Regions from separate parts of the Homo sapiens genome. Here region 2 is linked to region 1. Evidence: promoter capture Hi-C in human tissues and cell types (Jung and others, 2019). All regions are on one chromosome and are shown on one strand. Each heading gives the region's core, a stretch centred on a gene start or on the middle of the fragment in contact. The rest is flanking DNA. Distances are from core to core; before and after follow the strand shown. Region 1 holds the start of SPOCK2 (SPARC (osteonectin), cwcv and kazal like domains proteoglycan 2). Region 2 overlaps PSAP (prosaposin).

Region 1 (5,115 bases), core at 1,004-3,503:
GGTGGGTAGCCCAGTGCCATGGGGTCAAGCAGTAAGTCATTTATTCTCACCCACGGAGCTGGCTATTGGAAGCAGGTGGAAGAAGGGAGGTGGGGAGGAATCTTTTATTTTAAACCTTTCCTGTTCTGATTAAGCATTTCTTTTCCCTCTGACCTTCACTGGTCCCATTTTGGCAGATCAAACAGCCAGCGAGTCGGAGGGAGGCCTAGGCCAGTGACACATGGATTCCGGATGGGCCGGCCTGCTGCCGCCCCCTCGCTGCTGTGGCCGGGCTGCTGCCCAGGAAGCGGCAGGAGACTGCGGCTCATCTGCGCTGGGCCTGCAGGTGCTTCGGGAAGGCCTCGCGGGGCTCCAGGCTCCTGCGGCTGGACAGGTCGCATGTGGGGCGAAGGCGGAGATCAGCAGCCCATCGCGGGGCCCGGCCACTCAGCCTGGAGACCTGGCTGCCCGTGGTTCCTGCTGTCCTCTGTGAATTACAACCTGCCAGTTTGACTTTGGGGAGAAACAGTCACTTGTCTGACGGTAACAAAAAGATCCAAATCTCTGCCTCTTCCCATCACTTGGCTGGATAGCCTATGAAGCATGTGTGTTTTAAACAAATTTCCAAGGAACTTGTGGATGCACGCAGTTTAAGGAGAAAACGGGAGAGGTCATGGTGTGGCCTGCGTTGTACTGGGTGGGTCGGACGAGGGAACCTGGGGAAGGAGGAGTAAGGGCCAGGGTCCTAGAAGAGGTTTTCTGGGGTCAGGGCCGCGGTGAGCACCAGGTCGCCAGGAGCAGCCGGCGTCGCCTCTGGCGCATCCGGGCCCATCCCCCACAGCACCCCCAACGATCTCGGGGTCCAGCCACACCCTCCGCCCGCCCTGCCTCACCCCTGCTTCCCCAGCCCCCAACCCGGCCCGGCCGAGAGGAAGGAGCCAGCCCCGCCGGGCCGCCGCCTGCGACTTCCCCTCTGATCCACAGGTGCCGGTAAACAAAAGTGCCGCAGCTACCCCCCCGCCCCCACCCCGCGGAGTTCGGCCCAAGGTTACGCCGGGGTTCGGGCGGCGCCCGCCGGGGGCCCCCAAACCCAGCTTCTGGACTCTCCCCGGCTTCTCAAGCCCACCGGGCCGGGAGCCTTCCTCTGGCTCCGAGCTGCTCCCCTCGCTCCAGGCTGGATTCCCCCCTGAAATGTTGGTCCGGGAAAACCAGCCTGGGTCCTCGCGCGCCCTTCTGCACGGGGACCCCAGCCCACCCCCGTACGGACACGCCTTCCACCATCTCGCCTAGAAGGCTGCTGGGACCCCAGACCCAGAGCCCCGGTCACACTCCCGTCCCATGCTGTCCCCCTCCCGCAAAGCCCACGGTGGGAACAGAGGGCACCGCGCGAGCCGATGCCACCCTCACTGCCGGCCCCACCCAGACCTGCCGGTGCTGCAGTGCCCCGTATGTGCAGCCTGCAGCATCCCAGCGGCTGGGGCAGGCCCGGGGGCGGCTCGCACAACGCAGCTGGGGACCGGGTCGGGGTCCAGCGGCAGCCGGGGTCCGGGTCCCCCCGGCCCCGCACCCCTTCCCACTCCCGGCCCGCAGGGGAGACCCCGGAGCGCGCGACCCCGGAGCGTCGGGCAGGTGTGGAGCTGGGGGTCCCGGGGCTGGGGGGTCCCAGGGCCGCCGGCCCGGGCCGCAGGGACAGGGGAGGGGCGCTGGGCTGTGACCCCCAGTACTGTTTACTTTCCGTGTAATTAGCCGGCCAGGCTGCGGAGCCTCGGGCTGCGACGTGCGGCGGCCGCTCCCGCAGACCCCGGAGCTCAATCCCCGAACCCGCAACCCCGGGTCTCTGCCTTGGCAGCCCTGCGGACTCACGTCTCGGAAGCGGTTCCAGTGCTTGATCTTGCCGCTGTACTGCGAGATGGACGACAGCCATTGCTCGTCCTCCATGAAATTGCCGGGGGTCTCGCCCTCCTTGAGCCCCTTGGCGTCGCCTTCGGCCAGGGCTGCCGCGGCCAGGAGCAGCAGCGGCAGCACCAGCCGCCCGCAGCCCGGGGCGCGCATCGTGGTCTGGGTTCGACCTGGGGGGGTCTTGACTTCTGCAGTATTTTAATGTCCTTCCTCCCACCCCGCTGCTGGCGAAGCGCACGCGGCTGTCCTCAGCTCTCCTCCCGCGGTCTGCCTCCGGTGACTGGCGGAGAGTGGGTCGCGGCTGAAATGTGACCTGGTTAGGAGATGCACTTGTCTGAAAAAGCCCAGCACTGGACGCGGAGAGGGAGAGAGAATCAGAGAGGCTGCGCCAGCAGGGGCTGTAACTGTAGCATCAGCATCACGTTTGACATCATCATACCTGGTTTAAAAAAAAAAAAAAAAAAGGAGTGGGTAGATTTCAAAGCGAAGCGCTCCCTCGATGAGAGCGCCAAACGCCAGCCAGCCGCAGCGGGGCCCAGCCCCGCCTGGCACACAGGGAGTTGCAGACCAAGAAATCCAGAATCCCGAAATGTCCCTGAGCTCCCTCAAAGGATGGAGAGCAAGAAGGGCCCCAGGATCTCCCCGGGGAAGATGGGATGGGGGAGAGGGCACAAAACTCTCCGGTTACAAAGCCAGCCAGGCTCAGGTGTCGGAAAGGGAATTTGGCCAGACACTGTTTTTCTCCCCTTGCCTCCCACCCAGAGGGGCCTGCGCCACAGCCCTGACAGCTGGCTTCCTGCGAGTTATGGCTCTACCGTAATGGGTGGCTTCGTTAAGACAAAAGCCGTATAACAACTGGCTGCTCAGAACCATTGCTCCCCAGCGGCACCGCGTTGCGCAAGGCAAGGCCTGAGCACTGAGTGGCTGGTGAAACAGAGGCAGATGTCCTCCTCCCCAGGCAGCTGTTTAGGGGCTGTCACCCGTTTTGTCAGCTCTTCCCAGGACAACCCTAAAAGGCAAATGTCTGACCATTTCATCTGCCTTGGAGGCTGCAAATTTGGAAAAGGCATATTTGCTTATGGTTTTTTGACTTCAAGTTAGTTTGAATAAGCCACTGGGGAAGCCGGGGAGTGGGGGGCTGGGGTGGGGTGCTGGTTTTGTTTGAGGTGTTTCGGGTTTTGTTGAAACTGCGACCCTCCTTATTGGCTGTAGATTTAAATGTTGACATACCAGCGGGGAAGGCTGGAGGCTGGCCACAGTCCCAAGAGCACAGCAGAAATGGGGACAGGTTTACATTACAAATACATTAAAGAGGAAACATCATCTGATGGGACAAAACCTAGTGAACTTTTGGGACCCAAGCCCTAGATTGTGTTTTTATAAAAAGACTTAGCTGCTGTGATCTAAAAATAAAATAAAAATTTAAAATGCTTTAAAAAACATAATCTTAATCAGTAGGAAAAAACATAGCTTACAAGGTTCCTTGTCACCCTGAATCTGGCCTATCTGGGAACTCTGAATGCCTCAGTGGCTCAGGCCGGAGTCTCGTTGGGAAAACAGAAAACAATAGCTCCCTTTCCATGTTTTCTTGTTTCCTTTGCTGTTGGATTTAGTGGTGGTGCTGCAGTGAGGCCCTGGCCATTGACGTCTTCATCTCACAGTAATAAAGCATTCTTCCTGGGTGTGTCCTGGCGCTGTACAGTGAGAGAGCACGGCTTGCTGTCGTGGAGACTAGAGGACAGAATCCCACTTACTGGCTGGATTCTTGAGCAATTACCTATTTTCTATCTAAAACTAATGGTAATACCATCATTAAAACTGCTGTAAAGTGCAAGCAAAATTACATACTAAGTGGGCATAATGGGCATTTTTTTAAAAAGTTAGTCTTTCCTCTGGTTGGGAAGAGAAGGCTACGGTGTCCCATAGTTCTGAAGATTCATCAAAATTTGCCATCTTTTCCACCATCTCAATCCTACAATCCTAGTTTTTTGTTGTTTTTTTTTTTTTTGTTTCTGTTTTCGTTTTTAGCAAAGCTAGCTATATATCTCTAAGGCACTTAGGAGATAGGTACCAGATACCACAGCTCTCCCATTCCTGTGCTATCTTAGGGGCTTCCAGAGTTACCAAAGTTGCTGAATAAAGAGTTTGGAAAGGTGCTGTCAAGATGCCCATCAATATGACAATAGCTGTCTCCAGACTCTGAGGGTCAAAATGGCTCCCACAGTCCCAGGTAGCTTCTCCAGTGGGACTTGCCTTCTGTAGCACCTTCAAGCTGGGTCAATACTAGTCCTGTGTCGAAAGCTAATCAACAACATTCCAGTCCCATTAGTGAAGCCAATAGTAATGCTATTTAGGAAGAAGAACCCAAATTTCCAGATGACTGGTGTAAAACTTGTAGGAAATGGCCAATAGTTTTAGTTTACAAAGAAGAAAAAAAGGGCCAGGTGTGCTGACTCACACCTGTAATCCCAGCACTTTAGGAGGCCAAGAGGCAGGAGGATGGCTTGAGCCTAGGAGTTCCAGACCATCGTGGGCAACATAGCGAGACCCTATCTCTATACAAAATTTAAAAAATGAGCCACGTTGCACATGCCTGTGGTCCCAGCTACTCGGAGGCTGAGGTGAGAGGACTGCTTGAGCCTCGGAATTAAGGCTACACTGGGCTAGCATCGTGCCACTGCACTCCAGCTGGAGAAACAGAGCGAGACTCTTTCTCAAAAGAAAACAGAAAAGAAGAAAAAGAAAAGGTTTTTCAATTTTTTTTTTTTTTTTTTTTGAGATGGAGTCTCACTCTGTCGCCCAGGCTGGAGAGCAGTGGTGCGATCTCGGCTCATTGCAACCTCCGCCTCCCAAGTTTAAGGGATTCTCCTGCCTCAGCCTCCCGAGTACCTGGGATTACAGGTGCCCGTCCCCATGCTCAGCTAATTTTTGTATTTTTAGTAGAAATGGGGTTTCACCATGTTGGCCAAGCTGGTCTTGAACTCCTGGCTTCAGGTGATCCTCCCTCCTCAGCCTCCCAAAGTGCTGGGATTACAAGCATAAGCCACCACACCCAGCTTGGTTTTCCTCATGTTTGAAAGAATTACTGGCAGGTTAGCCTTTTCAAGACAATAGCCCCAAACATGAGGAGCTGCTGCTAGGTATATGTATTAAGTGGTACATATATTTTACACATTTTTCTGTTTGCACTTAATATTTAGCAATTCTAAAATGGAGAAGAGAAACCTTAGTTTCCTC
Region 2 (5,115 bases), core at 1-2,500, 260 kb before region 1:
CCCCGACACATACCTGATCCTGCTGTTGAACAAAAAAACAGGAAATCGGAGGTGAAAATAAGAGAAAGGAAAGGACACAACAGTTAAGAAAAATTAAAACAACAATCAAGCAGTTAACCAGGTGTAAGGATGTCCCAAGAGGTTCAGGGGAAATGCTCTTGCAATCAGATCTTAGCAACCTACCTTGTTCCTGCTATCTTGCGGACAAGGGGGCCCTGAAAGCTTTCCTGGCCCTGCAGGGATAGACCATTTGGGGGCTGTCCTGCTCTGTGTGCACCATCTCCAGGTCTTACACACTAAATCACACTCAAAACACTGTGTAGCAAGAGCCCCAGAAAATGCTTGATGAAGGGTCTCCATACTCAGGAGCCCACACTGGCCCCGGGCCCACAAGGCTTTCCCACAGGTTAGTGACCAGCAGCACCACAGAACAAGACACAGGGCTGCCCAAGTAAGGGGGGTAAGGGATCCCTGAGGGGTAAGGGATCCTAGGGCAATCTACTGCAGGTGGCCAAATGGCAGCCTGGAAGGCCAATTTAACAATGTATCCAAAGCCTCATGCTTCCATTCAGCAGTTCCAGCTTTAGTTCTCTATAATAAGGGGAAAGGCAGGGATATGCATATATGTATGCATTTGGCTATAAGGATATTCATCTTCCCAAAGGCAAACCTGAAAACAACCTAGATACATCCGGCCACCGGGGACCAATTATGTAAATTCTCTTCTATGTACACAGGTGATTATTCTGCAAGCATTTAGTCATTTGTACAAGAATATTCAATGGCCAACATATTTTTAGGCAAAAAATGCAAACTACAAAGTACAAGGTAGTATATATGAACCCGTTGATATATTCTGAAACTCCAAATGATTTTTGTGTGGGAAGTATTGTCCATATTTTCAACACATTTCTACACAGTATAACTTTTATAATGAGAAAAATATTTTAAGTTAGCTATGAGGAAGTACTTCACGAGATTAAATCCCGTCAATGCTTATCTTTACCTACTTCAGGTGCATGTCTCTGTAAGCTGCCTTTTAACTGTTTTTAGAACATGGTAGGGTGTGAGTAATAATCCCAAATAAACTACTCCTCCTCAGCTTGCTTGAGTGGTTACAGCAGGTCAGAGAGTCAATCTTTCAGGCTCCTTGGCCATAAGATCTGGCTGCAACTACTCAACTGTGCTGCTGTAGCACAAAACAGGCGTCGCTGTGTTCCAAAAAAATACCCTTTAAGTACAAAACATGATGGGCCAGTTTGCTGACCCCTGGATCAGAGAACAAACTCAAACGCTGGTATGTCAATCTCAAGTAGTCAGAAAGCATGACAGACAGGGAAAAGGTGCCCCCCACCCACTCAGCCCTGCCAATCAGATCTAAGGAGGCAGTGCCCGTTCCCAACGTGAGCAGGCCGCCCTGCTCTGCGTGGACTAGCGAGCTCATTTCCTGAATGGGTATTCTTGATTCTAATGAAGGAATGCCCCCTGCCACCTGAATGCATCCAAAGCCAGCTCAGGAGTTACCAGCTCAAGCAGCAGCTTCAGCGGACGCTGCTGCCATGCACGGGACAAACTCCGGGAGGCAGTATTCCCCCGACTCAGGTGGCAACACAGCCATTCTCAGGCCTGGCTTAGTTAGAGAGCACTTGACTTCTACAGATCCCAGGGTTAAAGCCAGACCTAGAAACCTGATGGCTGGCCTGAACGGGCAGAGGCAAACAAATTGCCAGGAAGCCACCAGGGCAGTCCTGGGATCAAGATGCTTCAGCCTGCCTCTCCCGTAACAGGGGAGGTACTGAGATTGCAAGTGGAGAGTCTCCTAGCCAGAGGGGTCGATTTAGCCCAATTCAGCACTCTAAGGTAAAAAAGGGAAACTAAACCATATAATTTTCAAAATTCCTAGAAATGACGAAACCTGAAAAACAAAGAAAAATGCTAACAAGGGGCCTCCGTGCCACCTACCATGTGCATCATCATCTGGATAGCAATTTCAGAATACTGGCTGATATAGTTCTTGCACTGAGGAGAGAGAAACAGATTGCTAAACAAATCACTGCAACAATGCACCAAAACCCAACCAACAAAAACCCCCCAGCATTTCCAACAGTGTCAACTGGTGACTATCAAGCAAGTTTCTAAAGTAGAATTTTATGAATGTCTGCTCTGGGCCAGCTTTAATAAGATGAAAATGACAATTTGGTTACTCTATCATTTATAGGAAATGTGTGCAAAAGACGTTTTGAAAATGTTTCTTAAGGGACCTTAAAGATTCCACCCTCCTGTCTCCTTTATCTTATAACCTCACGTGCCCCAGGATCACACAGCAACTATTCAGTGGCAATTTGGAGAGAAGGCAGCTAGGAGATACACTGCTTAGGAACTGGAGCTTACCTTTCAAAGCCATTTACACAATCTCAGATGGCATTATAAAGCTTAAATCCAGTAGAGTCAAGTTATAATGATTTTTAACTGCTTATTTTCAGACAATCTAGATACTTCCAGTAGACTCCACAGAATTGCTCCTTGTATTTGGGGAGCTTCTACAGAGAGAGGACCAAAGGTAACATGATACAGCCTCTCAGAGAGGGTTCAACTGGGAAACCTGTTTAAATGGTGTTATGCAAAGACACTTAAAATGAGGCTACAGGATTCCTAGGCTTTCAAAATGAATGAATGTTCACCTGATTAACATTCCTAACGGAAAGTCAGAGAGAAACCCTCAGCTGGGCGTGGTGGCTCACTCCTGTAATCCCAGCTACTTGGGAGGCTGAGAAGAGGATTGTTTGAGCCCAGGAGGTAAAGGCTGCAGTGAGCTATGATTGTGCCACCGCACTCCAGCCTGGGTGACAGAGCTAAACCCTGTCTCAAGAAAAAAAAAAAAATGGAGAAGGCCTCATCTCCTAGAGCCGGCCACTCCACCCAAAAAGCCTCGCTAGATCCCAAAGGACAGAGTAATTACAACCAGCTTCTCAGCTGCCAGTCTAGCAGGTTTCTTCAGTTGTCAGGTACTAAAAATGGCATTTTGGTTTTACACATCCACCTGAGTGTGATTAATAATCTTGGAATAGGGTCCCAGAATGAAACGATCTAAGTAAGGGGCCAAGAAAATGAGTTTCTGAGCCCACAGGACTAAGGGAGGCTTCCAGGTGAACCATGGTCAGCGACCATGCTTGCTGCAGGAGCACAGCTGGAATTCTCAGTGTCACATACATTAGCCAAGCTTTCAAAAATGGGGTAAATGGCCGGGCGCGGTGGCTCACGCCTGTAATCCCAGCACTTTGGGAGGCCGAGGCAGGCGGATCATGAGGTCAGGAGATCGAGACCATCCTGGCTAACACAGTGAAACCCCGTCTCCACTAAAAAATACAAAAATAATTAGCCGGGCATGGTGGCGGGCACTTGTAGTCCCAGCTACTCAGGAGGCTGAGGCAGGAGAATGGCGTGAACCCGGGAGGCGGAGCTTGCAGTGAGCCGAGATCGCGCCACTGCATTTCAGCCTGGGCGACAGAGCGAGACTCCGTCTCAAAAAAGAAAAAAAAAAAAGAAAAGAAAAGAAAAAAATGGGGTAAAGGCCGGGCGCAGAGACTCACGCCTGTAATCCTAGCACTTTGGGAGGCTGAAGCGGGCAGATCACTTGAGATCAGGAGTTTGAGACCAGCCTGACAAACACGGTGAAACCCCATCTCTACTAAAAATACAAAAATTAGCTGGGCGTGATTGCACACACCTGTAATCCCAGCTACTCGGGAGGCTAAGGCAGGAGAATCCCTGGAACCCATGAGGTAGAGGTTGCAGTGAGCTGAGATCACGCCACTGCACTCCAGCCTGGGCAACAGAGCAACACTCAGTCTCAAAAAAAAAAAAAAAAAATGGGGGCAAAAAGTATTTCTACAGTGTTCCTAATACACAGGGTGCCTGGCAGGAAACAAAATCTTCCCAGAAACAGTCTCCTACTTTTTGTTCCCAGTTTTGTTACATATCCAGATGCCATTAACCAAAATAGATTCAAGTCTGCACTACCTATTCAAGCTGCTTTCTGGGAAAAAAGAGAAGGATGTTGTCTGAACGCCCTACTCCAGCCTCCACAGCCCAACTCCCAGGCCCAGAACATCCCCAATGCACAAGGACACAAGGCTCACTATGTCGGCCATGCCAGGGCCCAGGCGGTCACACTCCTCCTTGACATGTTCCACCAAGGCCTGGACAAAGGTGGAGTTGGTCCGTACAGCAGTCTGGATGTCAGTCACCATCTGAATGCAGTCCTGGCAAACGTCCCCATTATCCTACAGAAGAGGCAGTTAGGTTTGCAACTTAAGAGGACTCAAATTCCTAGGAAAACGTCCTTATATACTCAGGGCTGCAGCATTAGGGGGCACTTGCTGACCAGTTCCTAAGATGCTTTACAGGCTCTCAAATTACTGATAGGCTTAAAATCGATTAAGTGTTCATTATAGTAACAGTATGGTATAAAAAGGGGGTTTAGTATAAATAAAAAGGTTGGCCAGGCACAGTGGCTCACACCTGTAATCCCAGCACTTTGGGAAGCCGAGGCAGGCAGATCGCTTGAACCCAGGAGTTTGAGACCAGTCTGAGCAACATGGCAAAACAAAAAATACAAAAATTAGCCAGGTGTGGTGGTGTGCATTTGTACTCCCAGCTACTTAGGAGGCTAAGGTGGGAGGATCACTTAAGCCTCAGAGGTTGAGGCTGCAGTGAACCATGATCACACCACTGCACTCCAGCTTGGGTGACAGAACGAGACCCTGTCTCAAAAATAAAAGAAGTAAATTTTTTTAAAGGGGATTAATCTTTGCATATTTTAAATATCCCATTCTTTAGAAACTTCATGGTACAACCATTTAAAGGCTGGCTCATGTGACTGCAGAGTCACGCACAGGGATAAGCCCCAGTTTAAGAACCACACGTGCCCTCTCTGTCCCTTTGGTCTCTCATCTCCAGTGCAACCAAAAATGGGTCCTCAGTGGCCAGCCCGTTGTCTTACCTTTGGCTGGGGCTTGCTGCGGGGGCCGTCCTGAGGGTAGAGGAGGAGAGGGATGTTGGCCATGAAGGGGGCCACCACCTCAGTCATGTCCAGCTCTGGGATCTTATTGGACT

The links. Contacts are between HindIII fragments. The study calls those that stand out against the background at their distance.
Region 2: a fragment that was not itself captured here is called in contact with the fragment with the promoter of SPOCK2 in region 1 in 1 of the 25 tissues and cell types used here (dorsolateral prefrontal cortex).

What each region holds. Positions count from the first base shown.
Region 1 is chr10:72,086,298-72,091,412 of GRCh38, forward strand. It overlaps SPOCK2 (SPARC (osteonectin), cwcv and kazal like domains proteoglycan 2), which reads right to left and starts at 2,254. Exons shown (of 11, transcript NM_001244950.2): 1 at 1,843-2,254. The coding sequence starts at 2,031. The HindIII fragment of the contact is 11,919 bases long and covers 1-5,115 here.
Region 2 is chr10:71,823,875-71,828,989 of GRCh38, forward strand. It overlaps PSAP (prosaposin), which reads right to left. Exons shown (of 14, transcript NM_002778.4): 5 at 5,003-5,115; 6 at 4,140-4,283; 7 at 1,963-2,019. Among named protein-coding and RNA genes, the nearest start is that of PSAP, 25 kb to the right of the region's middle. The HindIII fragment of the contact is 3,151 bases long and covers 1-2,826 here.